Regions from separate parts of the Homo sapiens genome. Here all the other regions are linked to region 2. The links are contacts of gene promoters, found by promoter capture Hi-C in human tissues and cell types (Jung and others, 2019). All regions are on one chromosome and are shown on one strand. The core of a region is centred on a gene start or on the middle of the fragment in contact, and the rest is flanking DNA. Distances in the headings are between cores, read along the strand shown. Region 1 has its middle 26 kb from the start of TOMM5. Region 2 holds the start of TRMT10B (tRNA methyltransferase 10B). Region 3 overlaps FBXO10 (F-box protein 10). Region 4 has its middle 3.7 kb from the start of FBXO10.

Region 1 (2,700 bases), core at 73-2,572, 140 kb after region 2:
AATCTCCTACTGGGGAATATATCACAGCACCAACTCCAGGATGTGGGGGAGGATAGAAACAAATGAATCTGGGAATACAGGTTTTTTTTTTTTTTTCCCCTGTCTACTCAGTGTCAATTGGCACCTACAAAAAGCAGTATGTAGCTAGTAAGCACCTTCACTATATCAAGCTAATCCACCAAGACTATACGGCAGGGTCCCCACATAATATGTGACTAAACCTTTTTCGATTCAATTTCTTTTTTTTTTTTTTCTGAGCTGGAGTCTCGCTGTGTCGCCCAGGCTGGAGTGCAGTGGCACAATCTCGGCTCACCACAACCTCCAATTCCTGGGTTCAACTGATTCTCCTGCCTCAGCCTCCCAAGTAGCTGGGATTATAGGCACCCACAACCACACCTGTCTAATTTTTGTACTTTTAGTAGAGATGGGGTTTTGCTATGTTGGCCAGGCGGGTCTCAAACTCCTGACCTCAGGTGATCCACCCACCTTGGCCTCCCAAAGTGCTGGGATTTCAGGCATGAGCCACTGCACTGGCCTTGATTCAATTTCTCTGCAGCTTTTGCCCTACTCCATTTCTATATTAATACAACTCTCTTTTCTTCCTCCTACCCTCTTTACCCTTCTCCCACAAACATTTGTTGAGCCCTTGCTATGTGCCAAGCCCTGAAGTAAGTATAAGGAAATAACAAAGATCTCTGACCTCAAGTATTTTCCAGTTATAGGCCCGGGTTGTGAATATCACAAAGGGGGACAGTTACAGGTGGGATGCATGTCACAGAGATGTCAGGAAAGGTTTACATGGAAAAAAAATGGAAACGTTCCCAAGTTTTCCCTGTTTGGAAAAAATTTCATCCGCACTCCAACCTGAATTCTGTTCCACTTTAGAGCTCTGTCATAGAACCTTATGGCATGTCGGTTTACATTAGTCACTTGGGGCTGGGTTTATCTCCTCCATTCCATTCAGTATAATTCACTCCACATAAATCCTGTGCTAGGCTGTGCTGTGGGAGAGGAAAATGATAAAGTCAATCCCAGGACTGGCTCAGCAGGGAGCTCACAGGAGGAAAGCTACGCAACAGAAGGATAAACCAAGTGCAACAGAGGATGACATGGACACAGATTTGCCTCCTCCCACTAAAGGAGGCAAATGCCATGGAGTGCTTTAGGGAAGAAGTGGCATTTGAGAGGAGCTTTGAAAGGTGAGCAAGATTTCTCTAGTCAGAGACCGAAAGAGAGATGATGCTTTGTAACAGATTCAGAGAAGGCAAGAAGAAGGGGAAAGAATGAGACAGTGTGTTTGAGGGAACTGCAGTAAACCAATGAGGCTGGCATATAGGGTATATGGTCAGGGAGAGGTGTATGATTGGAAGAAAAAAACCTGGAAAGGTTAATTTGGACCAATCTGTGGGGGCTTTCAATACTTGTAAGGTATTGACACTTAATATGTAGGCTATTTCCCACTCAAAAATGCTTCTCATTTTGGGGAAGCATTTTTGGCTGGGAAATTTATGTGCCCAAAGTTGTTTTGTATGGATTGTGGATGAGAAAAGAGACAAGGAGACCAATCGGGATGAGTGTAGTATTCCAGGTAAAAGAGGCTGTTGTTGCTGATGAGAAGTAGCAGTGGAGAGGGAGAACTGCCACTCTTGGGTCAGGGGCTGAGTGTCACCTATTCATTTGTCCCCTGTAACAGCCAGCACTGTTCCCCCCTGTTTCATAAATATTTGTGAGATTGAACTGTATTAAAGATTCAATTTGAAAGTATGAATTTATGTCTTGCAGATGTCTTGTCCTTTTTGTTTTAATCCTGTCATAAAAGTCATTCAATTCCAAGTCACAGTATTGTCCCTGCCGAAGGCTATCATTATCTGGCAGTTATGTGGCACCTCAGAGCAGTGGCACCTCATTTGCAGTCCTTAATTGCCTCATGCACCATTTTAATTGGTCTGCGATTGTCTGTGTGGACAGACCTCATTTCCTTTCTGGAGTCAGCTGGGGCTGCCCCACCCTTTCCTACAAGCTCAGTCATCCGAACATCACTAGCTGAGAAGACTCAGGAAGGCTGCTGAGCTCCAAAGCATGCAAAGAATGGGCTCTCATGGGGAGTTCTAAAGACCAGAGGGCTGCTGGGACCCACGAAAGGGCAGCTGTCCAGTGAACTCAGAGTCACTTTAGGCAGGCCTTTTTAGGAAAGTAGGAAGGAAGGTACAACAGGGGCAAACTGTAGGGACCGCCCAGAGTGTGACACAAGAATTCCAGATGAGGTTTGATAATTACATCAGTAGGGATCTTTAAAAATGGTTAAGATGACCCATTTAGAAAGTAATCCACCTCAAGGGATGGCTTAGAATTAGGGAATTAATGAGGACACAGTGTCTCCCGAATCCGGTCAAGTGGTCAGATTGGATTGGGATCATGAACTCAATTTAATCAAAAGATAATAATGGCTAATTTTACTGAGCATTTACTATGTGCCAGATACTTTTCTAAGCACTGTACCTACATTAGCATATTTAATCCTCACAATAATTCTATAAAGTGAGTGCTATCATTTCTCCATTTTACATGTGAGGAAACAGGCACAGAGCCAGTAAGACTTATCCCAGTGGGCAAGTGGTAGAGCCTGCATTTGAAACCAGGCAGTCTGGCTCTGGCATGTACTGAATGCAACGCTCTCTGAGGTCAGAGTGTCTCTTGTTC
Region 2 (2,700 bases), core at 173-2,672:
CGATCTCGACTCACTGCAAGCTTTGCCTCCCAGGTTCACGCATTCTCCTGCCTCAGCTTCCTGAGTAGCTGGGACTACAGGCACCCGCCACCATGTCCGGCTAGATTTTTTTGTATTTTTAGTAGAGACGGAGTTTCACCATTTTAGCCAGGATGGTCTCGATCTCCTGACCTCGCGACCCACCTGTCTGGGCCTCCCAAAGTGCTAGGATTACAGGCGTGAGCCACCACACCCGACCCTGTGACCTTTATATAACTCTCCCTTCCCCAATCCTGGCAGCACCTTTGTATTTCCTATCTTATGAATTTGAGTGCTGCTCTGGTTTGAATGTTTGTCCCCTTCTCACATTCAGGTTGAAACTTAATTGCCATTGTAACAGTATCAAGAAGTGAGATTTCATTTATTTTTCATTTCTTCATTAAACATCTTTTCTGAGCCTCCAATTATGGGTCCGATGCTGAATATTCATTACTTTCGTTCAACAAAGCTACTAAGCACCTGACATAATAGTACATCCTGGGGACTTGGGGATGACATTCGTTCTGCTTTCATGGGGCTCCAATTATCTGACCCTGCCTTGCATGACAGCTGTCTACCTGTTTCCCCACTAGATTATAAACCCAGGGAAGAATTGGAAGAATTCACCTGTACACCCTCAGTACCCGAGCCCTGTGAGCATCCTAAGTATTTGATGATCACCACTCTTCTGCTTAGAACCCTGCAGTACTCTCCATTTCACTGACAGTAAATAGCCCAAATCCATACAATGACCTATGCAGATCACTAAGGTCTACCTTTCTCGTTTCCTCTGCACTCCGGGGTCTATTTGCTGTTCCTCAAACATACCCTTCAAGGCCTTTACATTCGCCGTTCTCTTTACCCTCAATGCTCTTCCCTAAGACACTCACAGACTACCTTCCTCTCCTCATTCATATTACTATCCAACATAACCTATTTTACTTGTTGTCGGAACCTCCTCCATCCCTTCAATGTAGGCAAGTGTTGTTTGCTTATAGATGCTTAATAAATACTTGCTGAGTTCATAAATCCTCCACTCCGCACCCCCACCCTAGGTTGGCAGAGGCCTCAGACCTTTGCTAGCCTAACTCCCACCTGATGGGTACCTACACTGCCGCTAAGTGATGGCACATCGAATTCAGCCTGAGAGCACCCCGCCTGCGGGTCTCTCCCGGCCCACAGGCTGAGCGTGCGAGTGGAAGCAGGAAGGGAAAGTATCAGGAAGGTGGAGTACCACAGGCCACATGACTGCTAAACGCTGCTTTCTCAACGTCCGCCCCACCCGCGAGGGAGGCGGACGTCCCAGGACAGACCCCGCAGCCCCCAGCCAGCCCCCTTAACCAGCGGACAGCGTACCTGATCCCCTCACCCCCACGCAGCGGCAGCGGCGCGCATCGGATCCCCCCCGCCCCCGGCCTCGCTTCCGCTTCGTAACTCCGCTCCGAATGGCATTCTGGAAATTGTAGTTTTTCACCTGCAGGGTGCTCGTGGGGCCGAGCCGGAGCGGAGGCTGCGGCTTCTACTCCCAGCCCTGGCGGTAGGGAGCTGCGTCCTGCTGTGGTGGTTGCCCACCTTCTCTGAACCCCTGTCTCCCCGTCTGCTGGACAGCTATTACAACCCCAACCCTTTACCAACTTCACAGGGCTCCTACAGGTGCTCTGTTGGTTGTCAAGGGCTGGACATTGCGAAACTGGGGTGTGTGAAGCAAAAAAATTCTAAGGCCCGCACCCGACTGAATGGACCTCCCTCTCTGCCGAAGGAAACCTTAAAAACTAGTTATGGCCATTACAGGAAGCGGGAGTGGAGCGGGGCGGTTGGACATGCACTGATATTATATCCCATCCCTTGCGGAGTTTAGGCCCAACGGGGACTGACACAACAGAATCTTTGTAGAACTAAAATATCAAATTCCAACCTGATATCATATTGTGTCCGGAAATGGTGGATTCTTGGTCTCACTGACTTCAAGAATGAAACCGCGGACCATCGCGGTGTTACAATTCTTAAAGACTGCGTGTCTGGAGTTTCTTCCTTCTGGCGGGTTCATGGTCTCGCTAGCTTCAGGAGTGAAGCTGCAGATCTTCGCAATGAGTGTTAAATCTCTTAAGAGGGCACACCTGGAGTTGTTCCTTCGCTCTCGGTGGGTTCGTGGTCACACGGGCCTCAAGAAAGAGCTGCAAATACAGATCTTCACGGCGAGTGTTATAGCTCACAAAGACAGTAGGGACCCAAAGGGTTAGCAAGCAACAAGATTTATTACAAAGAACAAAGCACCCACAGTCCAGAAAGGCAACCCCAACGGGTTGCCGCTGCTTGCTCGGGCAGCCTGTTTTTATTCTCCTATCTGGCCCCACCCACATCCTGCTGATTGGTCCACTTTACAGAGAGCCGATTGGTCTGTTTTACAGAGAGTTGATTGGTCCGTTTTGACAGGGTGCTGATTGGTGCGTTAACAATCCCTGAGCTAGACACAAAAGTTCTCCAAGTCCCCACTAGATTAGCTAGACACAGAGTGTTGATTGGTATATTTACAAACCCTGAGCTAGACACAGAGTGCTGATTGGTGCATTTACAAACCTTGAGCTAGATACAGAGTGCCGATTGGTGCATTCACAATCCCTTAGCTATACATAAAGATTCTCCAAGTCCCCACCAGATTAGCTAGACACAGAGTGCCGATTG
Region 3 (2,700 bases), core at 89-2,588, 190 kb after region 2:
ATTGTTTTTCCAGTTCTTTACAGGCATCACACTCCAGGTGCACAGGCTCTGGGGACATTTGTTACTTTTAATTCCACATGCAGAGGCCCCAGTGGTAAAACGGAAAGGCAAAACTTGAATGCATTAAAAAAAATAAAATAAAAAGTGTTACCTTGTTCTAAGAAGTCCCTGTTGTTTCATGAATCTCCATGGATTAGTGTAAAGATATAGTAAATAAAGCCAAATGGAATGATAGGAAATGTGCATGTGTGCTCGGAGTCAAGAGGGGGCAATTGTTGGCTTCATTCTAGATACAGAGCCCTGGAGTTGGGTACACAGGCAAGTTTGGGGGAAAACAAATGCTGAAGGGTTGACAGTAACCTGCTAGGAAATCCCCCTTCCCCTGAGAGGCCAGTGACTAAACCATGTGCTTCCTACTATAGGTGGGCTTCTTGGAACCCCAAGAAACCGAAGCTCCAGTAGTTTCTACGTCAGGTGGCTTGGCCCCAAATCCCCCAGACACCCTCACATCATCCTAAGGGAAAGAAATTACAATTAATATTTGCAAAATTGTGAGTTCCTGCCCTCACTGTTCCACCTAAATACCTCTCCTGGATGGATCTCCTTAAAATATAGCTCTGATCAGGCCACTTCCCTTCTGAGGAATCTATAATAGACAGTACAAGCTTCTTAGTCTGGCATTCAGGGCCTTTCCCATCATGCAACTTGTGAAAGAGGGTCGAGCACCAGTGGCTCCAAGGGGTCAGAACTGACACCACCTGGGGAAGAGTAGTGAAGTCAATCTCAAGGTGTCCGAGGGCTTTATAATAATGCCCTTTAGAGTTTCATATGCTCTTTCAGCCTCTGCTATGGTAACAAACAATCTGCAAGTTCTTAGTGCCTTAACCCAAACAAAGGTGTATTTTTCATGCATGGTGTTTGTCCATCTTGGCTTGGTCGGGATCTCTGCTTACTCTAATCATTTAAGGATCCAGGTTCCTAGAGTAACCGTCATCTCAAATGTTGCCAGTTGCTGTGCCACAGAGAAAAGCAAGCTGTGGATGATCCTGCATAGGCAATGAAGTGCTCTAGTCGAGAAGTAACGCACATCTCTTCTACTCAAAACCCATTGGTTAGTACTAGTCTTGTGGCCCCATTTGACCTCAGGAGGGATCAGATGTACAATCTTGTCATGTGCCCAGAAGGAAAGAAAACTGGAAGCAGTTGATGAAGAGCATTGATTCCCAATGTAATGTGCTTTCAATTTTTTAATCATCACAGCAAGCCTTTGGGTGCTATCAAGGTCCCCAATTTATATATGAGGAACCTGAGGCCCAGAGAGGTTAAGTGACTTGTTCAAGGTCACCTGCAACTTGACCCCAGGTCTTTTGGCTTTGAAATGATTGGTCTTTGCATGATACAGAGACAGCTGCTTCACTGAAAGGGTTGAAGCTGAGGAAGAAGGATGCTGCATCAAAGTGTGGGTGGGGCCCTTTATCACAATCACCAGGGAGCTTGTTAAAAATGCACATAATTGGTTCCACTCCAGAGATTCTGATTCTGGAGGTCTGAGATGAAGCTAGGAATAGGCCCCAGGTGATTCTCAGGTGATGACTGAAGAGCCACGATTAAAGAATCACTGCTATGGGAGGTCCTACTAAGTCTGGCTTAAAGATTTTCTTTTTTCGGCCAGGCGCGGTGGCTCATGCCTGTAATCCCAGCACTCTGGGAGGCCGAGGCGGGCGGATCACCTGAGGTCAGGAGTTCAAAACAAACCTGACCATGGTGAAACCTCGTCTCTACTAAAAATACAAAAAATTAGCCGGGCGTGGTGGTGCGCGTCTGTAATCGCAGCTACTCGGGAGGCTGAGGCAGGAGAATCAGTTAAACCTGGGAGGTGGAGGTTGCGGTGAGCTGAGGTCACACCATTGCACTCCAGCCTGGGCAACAAGAGCGAAACTCCATCTCAAAAAAAAAAAAAAGATTTTCTTTCTTCTTGATCTCTATAAGCTGCAGTAGTGCTTAATTCCTTCTATCTCACATTGTTATTAGCTATGACAGCAAATGGTTGCTATCACCTAATGGGTGATACATTAATTATTCACCTAAAATTTGAGGTGGGGGCATGATGGGGGCTCATTTCTGATTATTCGTTTACTTAAAAACACTGTTATTAAGCCTGTACTTTGTGCTGCATATTGGATGGTATGTGGGGTTCTTGCTGTATTCTCTGTAAGTGAATTATGATAGCCTAGGGTATTCATTATTGATGAGCTACTATGGGAAATGGGGGAAACCCATCTGGGAGAGAAATTGTCAGTGCTGGATACTATGGGATGTCACATGGGGCACACAATGCATTGACTGGGTTGAACACTTATATAGTAAAGTAAACTAGGCTCGAGTTGAGAAGCAGAGATGCATTTATGAGGGTTGGTGGTTGCAATTTGGGTCTCTCTTATTCCAAGTCCCTCCTGAGACTTGGAATACCAACCATTAGCAATAGATCCCAGGAGAACCCTAATGGAAAGTCCTGCAAAAGACCATATGGAAGCCTCTCACCTGGAAGGTGGTATAGATTAGGTTCCTTTAGTGTTAGCTGATTCACTCTTGAACACCTGTCAGAGTTGCCCCTTGTAGAAGGAAAGAACATCATGGATAAAGCATCTCAGAAAGTGCGCAGTATATGGTGCTCCCTGAAAGAAGAGTATATGGTTATAC
Region 4 (2,700 bases), core at 200-2,699, 170 kb after region 2:
ACTGTGTTGTAAGAATACAGTATATAATAGATAATGATACAAAATACATATTAATCTATTTTTTATGTTATCGGTAAGGTTTCTGTGCAACAGTAGGCTATTAGTAGTTAAGTTTTTGGGGAGTCAAAGTTACATGCAGATTTGTGACTGTGCAGGTGTCGGGGCCCCTAACTCCCACGTTTGTTCAAGTGCGGGGTATTTTCATTTCCACTTAAGTATATAGAGGCCAAAAATGCAAAAAAGAAAGAAACTATTACATAAACAGATGTACAAAGATAATACTGCATTTGAAATACAGTCACTTGAAATGTTCACTAATCAGCTTACATATTCAAGTATAAATTCGGTGAACAAAATGATTTAGGGACAGCGATATGTAATGTAAAAATTGTGGGTTGTTGGAAAGTAGAGATCTGTCTACATGGAAAGAATACTAGAATTAGGATTTCAATGTCCTAGATTATAGTTTCAGCTCTGCTATTTATCATGTGACTATGTGAGTCAGATTTTTTAGTTGCAAACACCAAAATCCAATTTTGACAGAAAAAGAAAAGTATTTTATTAAAAGGATAACAGGGAGTTCAGTATCACCAGGAGGCCTAGAGAATTAGGCTTGGAGAGTAGGCAACTGGAACATCACCCTTTGTTCCTTGGTCATACTCCACAGAGCTGGGGCAGTGAGGACGCCATTTCTGCTGAACATTAGGTGCCACCACTTACTTTGCCAAAGCCACATGCACAGAACCCTGGATCATGGCAGCCAGTGTTGCTCTAAGAACTTGCCGCACTTGCCATGGTCCCAGAGAAAATTATTCCAGAGACTTTATTGTGTCTCTGGTACTTAATTCAAAATCAAGAGTAATTTGTAGCATGATAGAATCACAAGGAGAAGCAGAGAAAATACCTGGAATTTCCACTTCTATAGTGAAAGGCATGTTCTGCTTCCCAGCAAACTCATAAACAAGGAATTCCCAAATGTAGGAAGGGACCTCAGATGCTGGGCAGCCAAAAAGCATGGCATGTCCACTATGTTGACCTGGGACACCACTCTGTGTGAGCCTACTTTTTCTGGAAAGCAAAGTAAATAAAGCTCCCATGGCTGAGGAGATTTTGTGTGTTCACTTATACATTTGCCAGTAAACACCAGCCAGGTGCCAGTGTATAAAGATGAGTAAGTTTCCTCTCGAGTCTAATGGTAGGATAGAGGCATGCAGAGGTGAGATGAGGGCAGAAAGAAGAGAGGGCTCAACTGTAGTTTGTGAATGATGTTCTTATATTTAAGTAGTTATATTTTTGGCTGGGCGCATTGGCTTACACCTGTAATCCCACCACTTTGGGAGGCCGAGGCAGGTGGATTACCTGAGGTCAGGAGTTTGAGACCAGACTAATCAATATGGTGAAACCCTGTCTCTACTGAAAATGCGAAAGCCTGTAGTCCCAGCTACTTGGGAGGCTGAGACAGAAGAATCGCTTGAACCCAGGAGGTGGAGGTTGCAGTGAGCTGAGACTGAGCCACTGCACTCCAGCCTGGGCAACAGAGCGAGACTCTGTTTCAAAAAAAAAAAAAAAAAAAAAAAACCCCTGGCCAGGTGTGGTGGCTCATGCCTGTAATCCCAGAGCTTTGGGAGGCTGAGGCGGGCGAATCACCTGAGGTCGGGAGTTTGAGACCAGCCTGGCCAACATGGTGAAACCCCGTCTCTACTAAAATACAAAAATTAGCTGGGCCTAGTGGCTGGTACCTGTTAATACCAGCTACGGGGGAGGCTGAAGCAGGACAATCGCTTGAACCTGGGAGGTGGGGGTTGCGGTGAGCCAAGATCATGCCATTGCACTCCAGTCTGGGCGACAAGAGCAAAACCCCATCTCAAAACAAACAAAAATTCCCATGTGGCACGTGATGCTTGCCCCACTAATAGGGAAGACAGCTTGCTCTTGTAGGACACTGCTGTAGCACTTTGAAAGTCAGCTGTTTTATACAAATACCAAAATGATAATGTTAGCTGGCACAAATCCAGAAACTCAAGCTTTTGATTGTTTATTGACAGTCATATCTGGACTGCCAGTTTCATGGAGTAAGATACTTTTCAAAGGATTAAATATGGCATAGCTTTGTCAGTCAGCAAGGTAAATCATCAGGCTCATTGCAGTGTGAGACTACCCCTGTGGTCTTTCTACTATACCTAGCTACTGTACAACTTTGTGTCTTAAAATAAATTGTTGGCTTTAGGTTTTAGTGTTTGGTTTTCTTATTTATAAAAGAGACCAGCTACATGGTAACTTAGACCTCACCCAGAATCATACCACATTCACCATATGGTAATAATAGATGGAATACATTTTTATGGAATATATTCTATAGAACCAGGGACTGAAAAAGGTCAGTAGGACCACGGGGTCAATTATTTCAGGCCACAATTTCGTGTAATAATTTCTTTTTCATAGTATTCTTGGTAAATTATGTTTCTATAGCTGATATTCTCTCGTAAATTCCGGAGGTCTGTATCCAACTCCTTTTCTTTTTTAGAGACAGGGTCTTGCTTCGTTGCCCAGGTTGGTCTCAAACTCCTGGGTTCAAGCGATCCTCCTGCCTCAGCCTCCTGAGTAGCTGGGATTACAAGTGAACTGCTTTTTTTTTTTTTTTTTTGAGACACAGTCTCACTCTGCCACTCAGGCTGGAGTGCAGTGGCGCACGATCTCTGC

The links. Contacts are between HindIII fragments. The study calls those that stand out against the background at their distance.
Region 1: a fragment that was not itself captured here is called in contact with the fragment with the promoter of TRMT10B in region 2 in 1 of the 25 tissues and cell types used here (IMR-90 fibroblasts).
Region 3: a fragment that was not itself captured here is called in contact with the fragment with the promoter of TRMT10B in region 2 in 1 of the 25 tissues and cell types used here (dorsolateral prefrontal cortex).
Region 4: a fragment that was not itself captured here is called in contact with the fragment with the promoter of TRMT10B in region 2 in 1 of the 25 tissues and cell types used here (dorsolateral prefrontal cortex).

What each region holds. Positions count from the first base shown.
Region 1 is chr9:37,617,313-37,620,012 of GRCh38, reverse strand. It overlaps a transcript of FRMPD1 not described here. Among named protein-coding and RNA genes, the nearest start is that of TOMM5, 26 kb to the right of the region's middle. The HindIII fragment of the contact is 7,750 bases long and covers 1-2,700 here.
Region 2 is chr9:37,752,527-37,755,226 of GRCh38, reverse strand. TRMT10B (tRNA methyltransferase 10B) reads right to left here and starts at 1,422. Exons shown (of 9, transcript NM_144964.4): 1 at 1,375-1,422. RefSeq lists a silencer at 1,278-1,512. The HindIII fragment of the contact is 14,807 bases long and covers 1-2,700 here.
Region 3 is chr9:37,558,075-37,560,774 of GRCh38, reverse strand. The region is part of intron 1 of FBXO10 (F-box protein 10); the gene reads left to right. Among named protein-coding and RNA genes, the nearest start is that of FBXO10, 17 kb to the left of the region's middle. The HindIII fragment of the contact is 7,023 bases long and covers 1-2,700 here.
Region 4 is chr9:37,578,762-37,581,461 of GRCh38, reverse strand. No RefSeq gene overlaps it. Among named protein-coding and RNA genes, the nearest start is that of FBXO10, 3.7 kb to the right of the region's middle. The HindIII fragment of the contact is 3,211 bases long and covers 1-2,700 here.